2 separate regions of the Homo sapiens genome follow, and region 2 is linked to region 1. Evidence: promoter capture Hi-C in human tissues and cell types (Jung and others, 2019). All regions are on one chromosome and are shown on one strand. Each heading gives the region's core, a stretch centred on a gene start or on the middle of the fragment in contact. The rest is flanking DNA. Distances are from core to core; before and after follow the strand shown.

Region 1 (5,824 bases), core at 2,376-4,875:
GCCCACATTCAACAGGGAGGGAGGGATTACACAGGGGTGTGAATACCAGGAGGCTGGGATCATTGAGGCCATCTTGGAGGCCAGCTACAATAATACTCACTTAAATTTAGCGAACTCAGAAAAAATTAGAATCCTAATAGAGCGGAAACAAAAAGCTCTATATTCTCTATTATTTGAAATACAGTTTTATGATTTAAGAAAATGGGCTCATAGAAATTAGTCCTTTTATTCATTCTGTTGCTTATGTGGCTATAGAATATTTTCAAATCAAGGGCTTCTATAAGGAAGGTCTGTTAACGGGTGACTGATTATAAGTATATACCTTACATATGACCAAGTCAGAGCACAGAATTTTATAATCCTTCAAATATATTTGAAACTTTTATACCCAGGTACCTGGTGAGCTGTCTACATTGGCTCTTAATAAGGATCTTTCTCAGAAATGATTTAAACTAATAACAGTATAATAGAAAGAGCTCTAGATTTGAGTCAAGACAGTCATAACTATTTTCCTTAACATGTAAATGAGGATCAGAATGTCTGCCCTATTCATGTGCCTCATGTGAGAATTAAATGTAGTACCAGAATATGTGAAAATGCCTTTTAAATTGTAAACCCCTGTCTACAGTTAGGCAATTTGATGGTTCTGTAGGGTGAGATTATAGCTAACTGATTGATAGAGTGTTTGTGCTACAGTGTGCCTTAGGTAAGCTTCACGTCAGGTAGTTGAACAATGTTGGAACACTACATCTTTCCCAAGTGTTCCATCCTGGTGTGTTACAAACACTGGCAGCCAAAATGTTCTTAATTCTTTAATCTAGCTGTCAAAAGACAAGGGAAAAGCAACTAATCAGAATTTAAATCATTCTTAAGTTAAAATTGTGTAGACCAGGCAACTCCAGTTCCTTTGATCTTTCCTCTTAGGACTTATTTCCAATTACTTTTATTTCAAATAAATGCAAGTGATTATGGTTGACCATAAATTATTAGTCTTGAGTGGTCAGATTAATGGTTTTTACATGTATTCTGTGTCTCATAAAGCTTCATTGGGATTTTGAAATAATGATTGGATGTACTTACTTTGCGATCCCAGTTTATGACTTTAAAGATAAGGGGTATGAAAATCATTTCATAAAAGGAAAAAAATGAACTTTACAGTGCTACTGTTCATTTTTTTCTGTGGAAATTGAATATGCTATCTCGTTTTTACCACATTGACCTCAGAAAAAGAGAGGTTAAACTTTTCTATGGTTGTTACATTCTTGTTTATAGCTTATGATTTTAATTGATAGTCAAATACATTAATGTCAGACATCGAGAAGTATTTATTAAGTATATGTCATTAGAGTAGCTACTTTTAAAAATTTTGATAAGTTGTATTTTTTTTCTTTCTGGACTTTATACTTAAAAGTCTTTTAATTTATTTTTATGAGCATAAAATAAAGCAAAATCTAACAAGATTGGATTTAATGAGTGAGGACAGAATTTTATTTTAAATGGCCTTTTCTAATAAAGGTCTATGATTCTGCTTCTTCTGGTACCATTTACGCACTTGCCTGCAGGATCTTTGTCCCAAAATACATATTGTGTTTGTTTATATACCATCCACAATTTGGCAGAGTTTACAGGACTTCTTGATGTTAGCTTTGAGAAATCCCTATTTAAGCTCAAGAAGTTCCTTCTCTGTAGATAGCCCAGTCATTCCAAATAAAAGATCTCTATGGTAAAGCTTTGGAGTGTGATTTTCTTCAAGAGAAATTAGACAACTTTACAAATACCTTGTCACATCTGGATTTTAAGTATTTCAGTTCGACTAAAATATGAATTGACAGCACTTAGTTATTGACAGTTTAGTGTATTGAAATCTGGTTTTTAAAAATATGCTTTAGATAAACTATAATACTCTAATAATAACGGAATCATAAAATTTAGAACTGGTAACTGCAAGCTTATATATATATATATATTTGACACCTTTGTAGCTGGCAGAGCGTTTGTATTTTTAAAGAAAAGTTTTTATTTTAGTTATTTTAGTTATTTTTCAATCTAAGAGAGGAAGTCGACTTTCTGAAAAAATTAAAATGTTTTGGCTAGGTGGGGTGGTTCATGCCTGTAATCCCAGCACTTTGGGAGGCCGAGGCAGGTGGATCACCTGAGGTCAGGAGTTCGAGACCAGACTGGCCAACGTGATGAAACCCCACCTCTACTAAAAATACAAAAAATTAGCCAGGTATGCTGGCATGTGCCTGTAATCCCAGCTACTTGGGAGACTGAGGCAGGAGAATTGCTTGAACCCGGGAGGCGGAGGTTGCAGTGGGCTGAGATTGTACCACAACACTCCAGCCTGGGCAACAGAGCAAGACTCTGTCTGAAAAAAAAAAAATTAAAATGTTTTAAAATTAGTATGTCATAGTACCTTCCAGTTAGAGTACGTGAATCTGCATACATGGTAAATGCACCTCTGAAGCACTTGAAGATTGTGAAGTCCCGTTTTCTCTTCTTTTGGATTGCATTATTTCCATTTTAGTGTAAAGGTGAAATTCTCTTTCATGACCTTTCCTGAATTACATATTCCAAGTGAGAGAAGGCAGAAATAATATGTCTGAGAAGAGCATCCTTCACTCTTCCCCTCCTTCCTTCTACTTTCTACATTTTTTTTTTTTTTTTTGAGACAGTGTCTTGCTCTGTCATCCAGGCTGGAGTGCAGTGATGTAATCTTGGCTCACTGCAACCTCCGCCTCCCAGGTTCAAGCGATTCTCCTGCCTCAGCCTCCCAAGTAGCTGGGATTACAGGCACCCGCCACCACACCTGGCTAATTTTTGTGTTTTTATTGGAGATGGGGTTTCACCATTTTGGCCAGGCTGGTCTCAAACTCCTGACCTCAGGTGATCCGCCTGTCTTGGCCTCCCAAAGTGTTGGGATTATAGGCGCTCTGAGCCACTGTGCCTGGCCTTTTTTGTTGTTGTTTGTTTGTTTTTGAAACTAGATATCTCTCTGTCACCCAGGCTGGAGTGCAGTGGTGTGATCTTGGCTTACTGCAACCTCTGCCTCCTGGGCTCAAGCGATCCTCCCACCTCAGCCTCCCAAGTAGCTGGAACCACAGGCACGCGCCACCATGCCCAGGTAATTTTTTTGTAGATATGGGGGTCTCACCATGTTGCCCAGGCTGGTCTCAAACTCCTGGACTCAAGCAATCCTCTCGCCTTGGCCTCTCAAAGTGCTGGGATTACAGGCATGTACCCATCATTTTTTTTTAATGGTTAATTCAAATGCTGCCAGGATAAAGACTATTGAAATGTTGTTGTCTGAAGATGTTAATTTCTTTGTAGCACTGCTATGCCCTAGTTTTACTATTTCCCATTTTCACTTGTAGTTTTTCAATCAGCATTATTGAGGTATAATTTACATGTAGTACAGTTCACCTATTTTAAGTGTACAAGTCTGTGACAACTGTGTATTCAGTAGTATAACCACCACCAAAGTTCACCATTGCTTCAAAAAGTTCCCTCATGCCCCCTTGCAGGTAGTGTTCTAATTGATGCAGACATACATGCACTGATACTTTTGTGATCCTCATCTTACAGGGAAGAAAACGTTTGTAATTTCTTTTTAACAGCATAAAAATGCTGTTTACCTTCAGGTGCAGAGACTTTGTTTCTTCAATATTATTCTTTGATGCTTAGTTTTGTACAGAGGATTGGAAGCTACAGACAAGCTAAAGTATAATAGTGATATGGTAGACTTTAATTATTGTTCCTTTTTTTATGAAAGTATGCACGTGAACAGTTGGAAAGTATTATCTGTTATAAGCTTTTCAGTTTAAGCTGGGCCTCCTCAAATTGATGTGTGTTTAGGAACTAAGAATTTTAAATAACATTTGAAGGGCCGGGCGCAGTAGCTCATACCTGTAATCCCAGCACTTTAGGAGGCCAAGGCAGGCAGATCACAAGGTCAGGAGTTCAAGACCAGCTTGGCCAACATAGTGAAACCCCGTCTCTACTAAAAAAAAAAAAAAATTAGCCAGGCATAAGCTGAGATCATGCCACTGCACTGTAGCCTGGGCAACACAGCAAGACTCTGTCTCAATAAATAAATACCATTTGAAATGTCTTCAATGCCATGTGTGGAAACTATTTAAAAAAATAAAACGTGCCTCTTGGCAGTATTGCTGTGCTTTCAGGACTCTAATGCAGGCTGTACCTAAGAGGGAAAGGGCTGAGTCTGGGGATGGTTGGCAGGTTGTTTTTGTGGATGAAAAACCTTTTACCCATGTATGCAGTCAGTACTGAGCCTTTTTGTGTTTTAAAACTTCAGATGTAAAGACAGGTTAATCTTCAGATTAAAACAAAAGGATGGCCTAGAAACTTGTGACTTCGACATTTACATTAGAAGAATGTAGATGTTTTCAAATAAACAAATCTGCCCATATCATAGATGTTCAAAGTTTGTTCCATATAATAACAATGATAGTTTCTAATAATCGTGTGGCCCTGTTTGCAGAACAGTGTTCTAAGTAATGAGCCATTTGGGAGAACCCTTTAAATTTTTTTTTTAGGATATTTATTCACACCAGCTTTTTAGTCCTGAGTTTCTATCCATCCCTTTGCTATCCAGAACATTTCTTGGCCATTTTTTTACTGGGTCAGGTGCCGTGGCTCGTGCCTTTGGTCCCAGTGCTCTGGAAGGCCAGGGCGGGTGGATCGCCTGGGGTTAGGAGTTCAAGACTAGCGTGGCCAGCATGGTGAAGCCCCGTCTCTACTAGGAATGCAAAAATTGGCTGGGCATGGTGGTGGGTGCCTCTGGTCCCAGCTGCTCGGGAGGCTAAGGCAGGAGAATCACTTGAACCTGGGAGGCAGAGGGTGCAGTGAGCCAAGATCGCGCCACTGCACTCCAGCCTGGGAACAAAATTCCATCTCAAAAAAAATAAAAATAAAAATGCAGAAATTGGTCAGGCGTGGTGTCGCATGCCTCTGGTTCCAGCTACTTGAGAGAGGCTGGGGTGGGAGAGTTGCTTGGGCCTGGGAGGCAAAGGTTGCAGTGAGCAGAGATCGCACCACGGCACTCCAGCCTGGGTGACAGAGCAAGGCTCCATCTCCAAACAAACAAATAACAAAAAAAACCCCTAAAACATTTTTTATTTTCCTTAAATGTATTGGCCAAGGTTAAAATATCCATCCTGAATATTCTGTATGAAAACATTGGATATGAAGAAAAAAAGAAAATTCAGGCAGTTGACCAGGGGAGAGAATTGAGCTTTTTGGTTCTTCCTGACACATATTCTCAGTGAGACTATACTCACTTTTTTAAAAGCTATTTATAAAATATTAAAATAAGATATTACATGAAGTTAAAAATTGAAACGAAAGTCAGCATCTTAATTCACCAATTACACAACTGAATGGTGTTTTTTGTTTGTTTGTTTGAGACAGAGTCTCGCTCTGTTGTCGAGGCTGGAGTGCAGTGGCATGATCTCAGCTCACTGCAAGCTCTGCCTCCCGGGTTCATGCCATTCTACTGCCTCAGCCTCCCGAGTAGCTGGGACTACAGGAGCCCGCCACCACGCCTGGCTAATTTTTTTGTATTTTTTTAGTAGAGACGGGTTTTCACCATGTTAGCCAGGATGGTCTCGATCTCTTGACCTTGTGAGCCACCGTGTCTAGCCTTTTTTTTTTTTTTCTTTTTTTTTTTTTTGAGATGGAGTTTCACTCTTGTTGTCCAGACTGGAGTGCAATGGCGCCATCTCAGCTCACCACGACCTCCACCTCCCGGGTTCATGCAATTCCCTACCTCAGCCTCCCGAGTAGCTGGGATTACAGGCATGTG
Region 2 (5,824 bases), core at 2,238-4,737, 86 kb before region 1:
CCTCTGCTTTTGACTATCTCTCTCTCTGTGTCTCTATCTCTCTATATTTACTATATATGTAACATTTCCTCACACACAGAGAAATGTGCTCCCGAGATGACTCTTCTTTTCCTTTCACTTCTTTTTCTTGAGACAGAGTCTCCCTTTATTACCCAGGCTGCAGTGCAGTGGCACGATCATAGCTCACTGCAGCCTTGACTTCCTGGGCTCAGGCAATCCTCCCACCTCAGCCTCCTAAGTAGCTGCAACTAAAGGCGTGCAACACCAGCCTAGCGAATTAAAAAAAAAAAAAAATCTGTAGAGATAGGGTCTCACTATGTTACCCAGGCTGGTCTCGAACTCCTGAGCTCAAGTGATCCTTCTGCCTCAGCCTCCCAAAGTGCTGGGATTACAGGTGTGAGCCACCATGCCTGCCCTTCATTTCACATTTTTATGATTCCCTCAGTCATCATCGATGCCAAGACCTCTGAACCATAGCACAGTAAATGGTGGAATCCATGGGCATGTTCCCCCCAGTAGTCATGGACAGCAGCCCAGGGATTTGGAAGAAGTTGACCTGTTAATGTAAAGGAGCTTTGTCACTGGACTCTGAGCTGGGAGGAGCTGGGGACCTCTTAGCACCCACAACCCAGGTATTAATTAGGACATGAGAATTAAGGGCAGAGTTAGCATCTACCAAGGCAGGAGGCTGGGAGGATGGCTGGGGCCACAGTGAGTTGGATGGGAGACATTGAATCAACAACAGGCCATGCTGTTGGGTGGAGGTCGAGAGCAACTTCTGGTGGAGACTGGAAGGAGAGAAACTGGAGACAGCAAAGGTGGATGACTAGCTTTCCTAGAAATAAGAACAGAAGGGCCAGGCATGGTGGCTCACGCCTGTAATCCTGGCACTTTGGGAGGTGGAGGGAGGAGGATTTCTTGAGCCCAGGAGTTCGAGACCAGCCTGGTCAACATAGGGAGATCCCATCTCTACAAAAAACATACAAAAAGTAAAAAAATAACCAGGCATGACGGCACACATGCACCTGTAGTCGCAGCTACTTGGGAGGCCAAGGTGGGAGGATCACTTAAACCCAGGAGATTGAGGCTGCAGTGAGCCAAGATCATGCCACTATACTCTACCCTGGGTGACAGAGTGAGACCCTGTCTCCAAAAAAACAAAAAAGAAGAGGAAGAAAGAAAGAGAGGAAGGAAGGAAGGAAGTGGGGGGGAGGGAAAGAAAGCAAGAAAGAAAGAAAGAAGAAAGAGAAAGAAAAGAAAGAGAGACAAAGAAAAGAGAGGAAATAAAAAGAAAGAAAGAAAGAAAAGAAAGAAAAAGAAAGAGAGAAAGAAAGAAAGAGAAAGAAAGAGGAAGGAAGGAAGGAAGGGGAAAAACAGAAGAATGGAGCAATAGCTAGAGGGCAAAGTGGGTCAAGGCAGGCTTTGATGGTGGCATTTACACAGAAGCTGTGTTTGCAGCTGATGGGAGGGATGCTGCTACCAAAGAGACAGCCCTGGGGACGTGGGAGGGGACCAGGGTCTAGTGTCCATGGGTAGGTCCCAGAGCTGGGACTAGAGCAAGACAAGCAAGTGTAAAATTTAGAAGGCATTCATTCTCAGGTGCCGACCCTCTACTGGTATGACCCCGGGGGTGAGTGACTCTTTAACTTTTATGCCCTGGGCGCCTTGCTGGCCTGTCTCACCCTAGTCCTGGCCCTGGTAGGCCCATCCACAATGCTAGGAGGGAAGGCAGACCTAGCTGCAGGGAGTTGGGAAACGTGGCCTTGGGAGCAGATGGAGAGCTCTCCTGGCAGCATCTATACCCGAAGATGGAAGGTAAGATTGTGGGCGGAGAAGAGATCCAGGTGCCTTGATGTGAGTGTTGAAGGTGGAAAGCATGCCAGAGCCAGGTGCTAAAATCTTCAGCAAATGATCAAGGGGGTGTGGCTGGGGGGTGGCAGGGCTGTGATGGCAACAAGAAGAGGAAGGTGGAATAGGGAAGGACAAAGTCTGGAGGCAGCTCTGAAAAGGAGACCCCACCCCAGGCTGCCGGGGAAGATTCAGGAAGCTGCAATGGTTTTTTATGAATTTTTTTTTAGAGAGAGAGTCTTGCTATGTTGCCCAAGCTGGCCTCAAGCTCCTGGGCTGAAGCAATCCTCCTGCCTCAGCCGCCTGAGTAGCTGGGACTACAGACTTGTGCCACAATGCCCAGCTGGCACTAGTTATTTTTGGCAGAAGGGAAGTTTCATCCTAAAGCCTGTCTCTTCAGCTCTGGGTGCCAGCTGGAGCCCCGGAAGAGGATCTGGCATCGTGTTTAGGCACAACCCTCACTCTGTCTTTCACTGGGCCAGCAAATATCTATCCATCCTCCCACCGCCTACTCCCAGCCAGCCATGTTCCTGACACTGAGGCCCAGAAGTGAGTCCTGCCCTCCCTGGGGGTGGGAGCCTCCTAAGCCAGCAGAGAGACAGATGCCCTGCAGATCCCCGCCCCGGTCAAGAGCAGGCTTCCATCAGTTCTGGTTCCCAGACTCTCCTCTCCTCAGGCTTCCATGAGTTCTGGTTCCAAGCCCCTCCCCTCCTCTCCCCTCCCCTCCCTCCCTCCCTCCCTCTCTCTCTTTCTTTCTCTCTCTATTTTTCTTTTTTCTCTTTTTGTTTCTTTCTCTTTTTCTGTCTCTTTTTCTTTCTCTCTCTCCTTTCTCTCTCTCCTTCTTTCTCTCTCTCCTTTCTTTCTTCTCTCTCTCTCTTTCTCTCTTTCTTTGTCTTGCTCTATAGCCTAGCCTAGAGTGCAGTGGCATTATCACAGCTCACTGCAGTCTCGACAACCTGGGCTCAAGTGATCCTCTCACCTCAGCCTCCCAAGTAGCTGGGACCACAGGCATGCACCATCACACCTGGCTAATTTTTTTTATTTTTTCTAGAGACGTGTCTCCCTGTGTTGCCCAGGCTGGTCTCAAACTCCTGGGCTCAAGCGATCTTCCTGCCCCATCCTCCTAAAGCACTGGGATTACAGGTATGAGCCACCACACCCAGTCCCAAGCCTCATGTTTTCACACACACACTCACACACACATGCAAACATGTACCCTCACTTCAATGCTATGAGGTGGGTCCTATTATCATCACTGTTTTATTTTCTTTCACATTTTAACATGAGATTTGGAGGGGACAAAACATCCAAACCATATCAAGCCCTCACCTCAGGCTGGGTTGCCCACTCGGAGTGGCACCCCAGGGTCACTGGCCACCACTTCCTAGGGTCAGTGATGTGGTCACCTTGGGATGAACGCACAGGATTTCATGGAGATCACCAAGTCAGGAGAGCTGGAATTTGAAAACAGTGGGACGGGGAGGGCTGTCATATCAACCAGGCCTCTGCAGGGCACTCATCTAGCCCTGCCTCTGGCTCAGCCTGAGCATGGGGCTGGCCACCAGCTAGGTGGCGCTGTCCTTGGAGGTTCTATATCACAGCCCTTTAGAGATCGGTGGTGCTGAAGGGCAGGGATCTTATTCCACCTTCTGAAGCTTCTGTCGAACCAGTTGTAAGGAGAATGGAGAGAGCAGTGAGAGTGGAGTCCGGGGTCCTGGTCGGGGTGGTCTGTCTGCTCCTGGCATGCCCTGCCACAGCCACTGGTAAGACACACCTGCTGGGCCTGCAGAGGTACTTGGTGTGGAGGAGTCAAGAGTGAGACAGGGACAGGGAGCAGTGGGCCGACCGCTCAGGAAACAGTCCTGTTTGGAGGCAGACCAGGGGTTGTGCATTCTCTCTGGGCAGGCGCTCTGCTCTTGCTGTATTTGTTTCGTTGTTTTTGTTGTTGTTGTTTGAGACAGAGTTTTGCTCTTGTTACCCAGGCTGGAGTGCAATGGCGCGATCTCGGCTCACTGCAACCTCCGCCTCCTGGATTCAAGCGATTCTCCTGCCTCAGCCTCCTGAGTAGCTGGGATTACAGGCACCTGCCACCATGGCCGGCTAATTTTTGTATTTTTAGGAGAGATGGGGTTTCACCATGTGGGCCAGGCTGGTCTCAAACTCCTGACCTCAGGTGACCCACCTGCCTCGGCCTCCCAAAGTGCTGGGATTACAGGCGTGAGCCACCGCACCTGGCCTGTCTTTATGTCTTAAGGGGGCCTGAGATTTGTTTTAATGAAGTATAGTAAGACAAGCAGATATGCAAATGACTATCATGAGGGAAGGAGTTTGCTCGTAGTTCCCTGTGAACAGGAAGCAGGCCATGCCACATAGGGCCACAGAGGGAAGCACCAGGTGGCATCAGCCAGGAGGCAGAGGGAGCAGGGGGAAAATGTGGGCAAGCCCCTTTGACACGGTTGCCACGGGAAGGAATAGGCAAGGCAGGCTAAAGAGGTTTACGATTGGCAGCAGGCTCTGGGGAAAGGGGCTGTCCCCAGCCAGCTTCCTGGTACCCGGCTCTGTGGTGATTATGGCTGGTGGATGGCAGCCAGGAGCTGAGAGCTGTATAAAGGAGGTGGTTGGGTATGGCTCTGGACTGGTTTGCCTTTGCTCCCTAGAGAGATGCCTGCCAATTCCACCTCCCCAGAGAGCTGCCTCCTATCTCTAGGAATTGTCTAGCCTGGGAGAGGCAGTCCTCCAGTCTTAGTCTGTTTGTGTTGTTGTAAAAGAATACAGGAAGCTGGGTAATTCACAAAGAAAAGAAGTTTAGTTAGGCCACAGTTCTGCAGGCCGTACAAGAAACATGGTGCCAGCTGGGCATGATGGCTCACACCTGTCGTCCCAGCACTTGGGGAGGCTGAGGTGAAAGGATTGCTTGAGCCCAGGGGTTTGAGACCAGCCTGGGCAACATAATGAGACCCCATCTCTACTTTTTAAAAAATAATTCAGGGCTGGGCATGATGGCTCATGCCTGTAATGCCAGCACTTTGGGAGCCCCAGGTGGATGGATTACTTGAGGTCAGGAGTTCGAGACCAGCCTGGCCAACATGATGAAACCCCGTCTCTACTAAAAATACAAAAATTAGCCAGGCGTTGTGGTGCACACCTGTAATCCCAGCTACTTGGGAGGCTGAGGCCCTGGAGTCGCTTGAACTCGGGAGTCAGAGGTTGCAGTGAGCCAAGATCGTGCCACTGCACTCCAGCTTGGTCAACAGAGCTAGACCCTGTCTCAAACACAAAAAATAAAAACAAAGAAATGGGCAAGTGGCTGGCCCCAAGGCACAAGGCCCTAGTGGCAGGCCCGGTCTGGCCTGGAGTGGAGTGGTAGTGACTCTCAGGCAGGCAGGGAGGAGGAAGTTGGGCGTCAACCTAAGACCAGGCTCACCGGCTTGCTGGGAAGGTTACCAAGATGCTGTGTGGTAAGTACTGAGAACAGCCTGAGGGTTTGTCTTTCACTCCTTCCCCTCATGGGGGCTGCAAACTCACCCCGTGGCCTTTCTGTCCTTCCCTCAGGGCCCGAAGTTGCTCAGCCTGAAGTAGACACCACCCTGGGTCGTGTGCGAGGCCGGCAGGTGGGCGTGAAGGGCACAGACCGCCTTGTGAATGTCTTTCTGGGCATTCCATTTGCCCAGCCGCCACTGGGCCCTGACCGGTTCTCAGCCCCACACCCAGCACAGCCCTGGGAGGGTGTGCGGGATGCCAGCACTGCGCCCCCAATGTGAGTAGTGCTGGTGGAGGCGGGCAAACAGGCAGGTTGCAGGAGAATCCTGCTGCTGGGGCTTGTGGGGCTGAACAGCTGGACCTCAGGCCCACCCTTGGCCACAGGTGCCTACAAGACGTGGAGAGCATGAACAGCAGCAGATTTGTCCTCAACGGAAAACAGCAGATCTTCTCCGTTTCAGAGGACTGCCTGGTCCTCAACGTCTATAGCCCAGCT

The links. The method cuts DNA at HindIII sites, captures the fragments that hold promoters and counts their contacts. A contact is called where the count stands out against the background at its distance.
Region 2: the fragment with the promoter of CES3 here is called in contact with a fragment that was not itself captured in region 1 in 5 of the 25 tissues and cell types used here (IMR-90 fibroblasts, dorsolateral prefrontal cortex, hippocampus and 2 more).

The regions. Positions count from the first base shown.
Region 1 is chr16:67,043,146-67,048,969 of GRCh38, forward strand. All of the region lies in intron 3 of CBFB (core-binding factor subunit beta), which reads left to right. Among named protein-coding and RNA genes, the nearest start is that of CBFB, 17 kb to the left of the region's middle. The HindIII fragment of the contact is 7,078 bases long and covers 87-5,824 here.
Region 2 is chr16:66,957,779-66,963,602 of GRCh38, forward strand. It overlaps CES3 (carboxylesterase 3), which reads left to right and starts at 3,488. Exons shown (of 13, transcript NM_024922.6): 1 at 3,488-3,611; 2 at 5,401-5,605; 3 at 5,713-5,824. The coding sequence starts at 3,530. RefSeq lists enhancers at 1-18, 3,130-3,379, 3,184-3,685, 3,470-3,679. The HindIII fragment of the contact is 25,956 bases long and covers 1-5,824 here.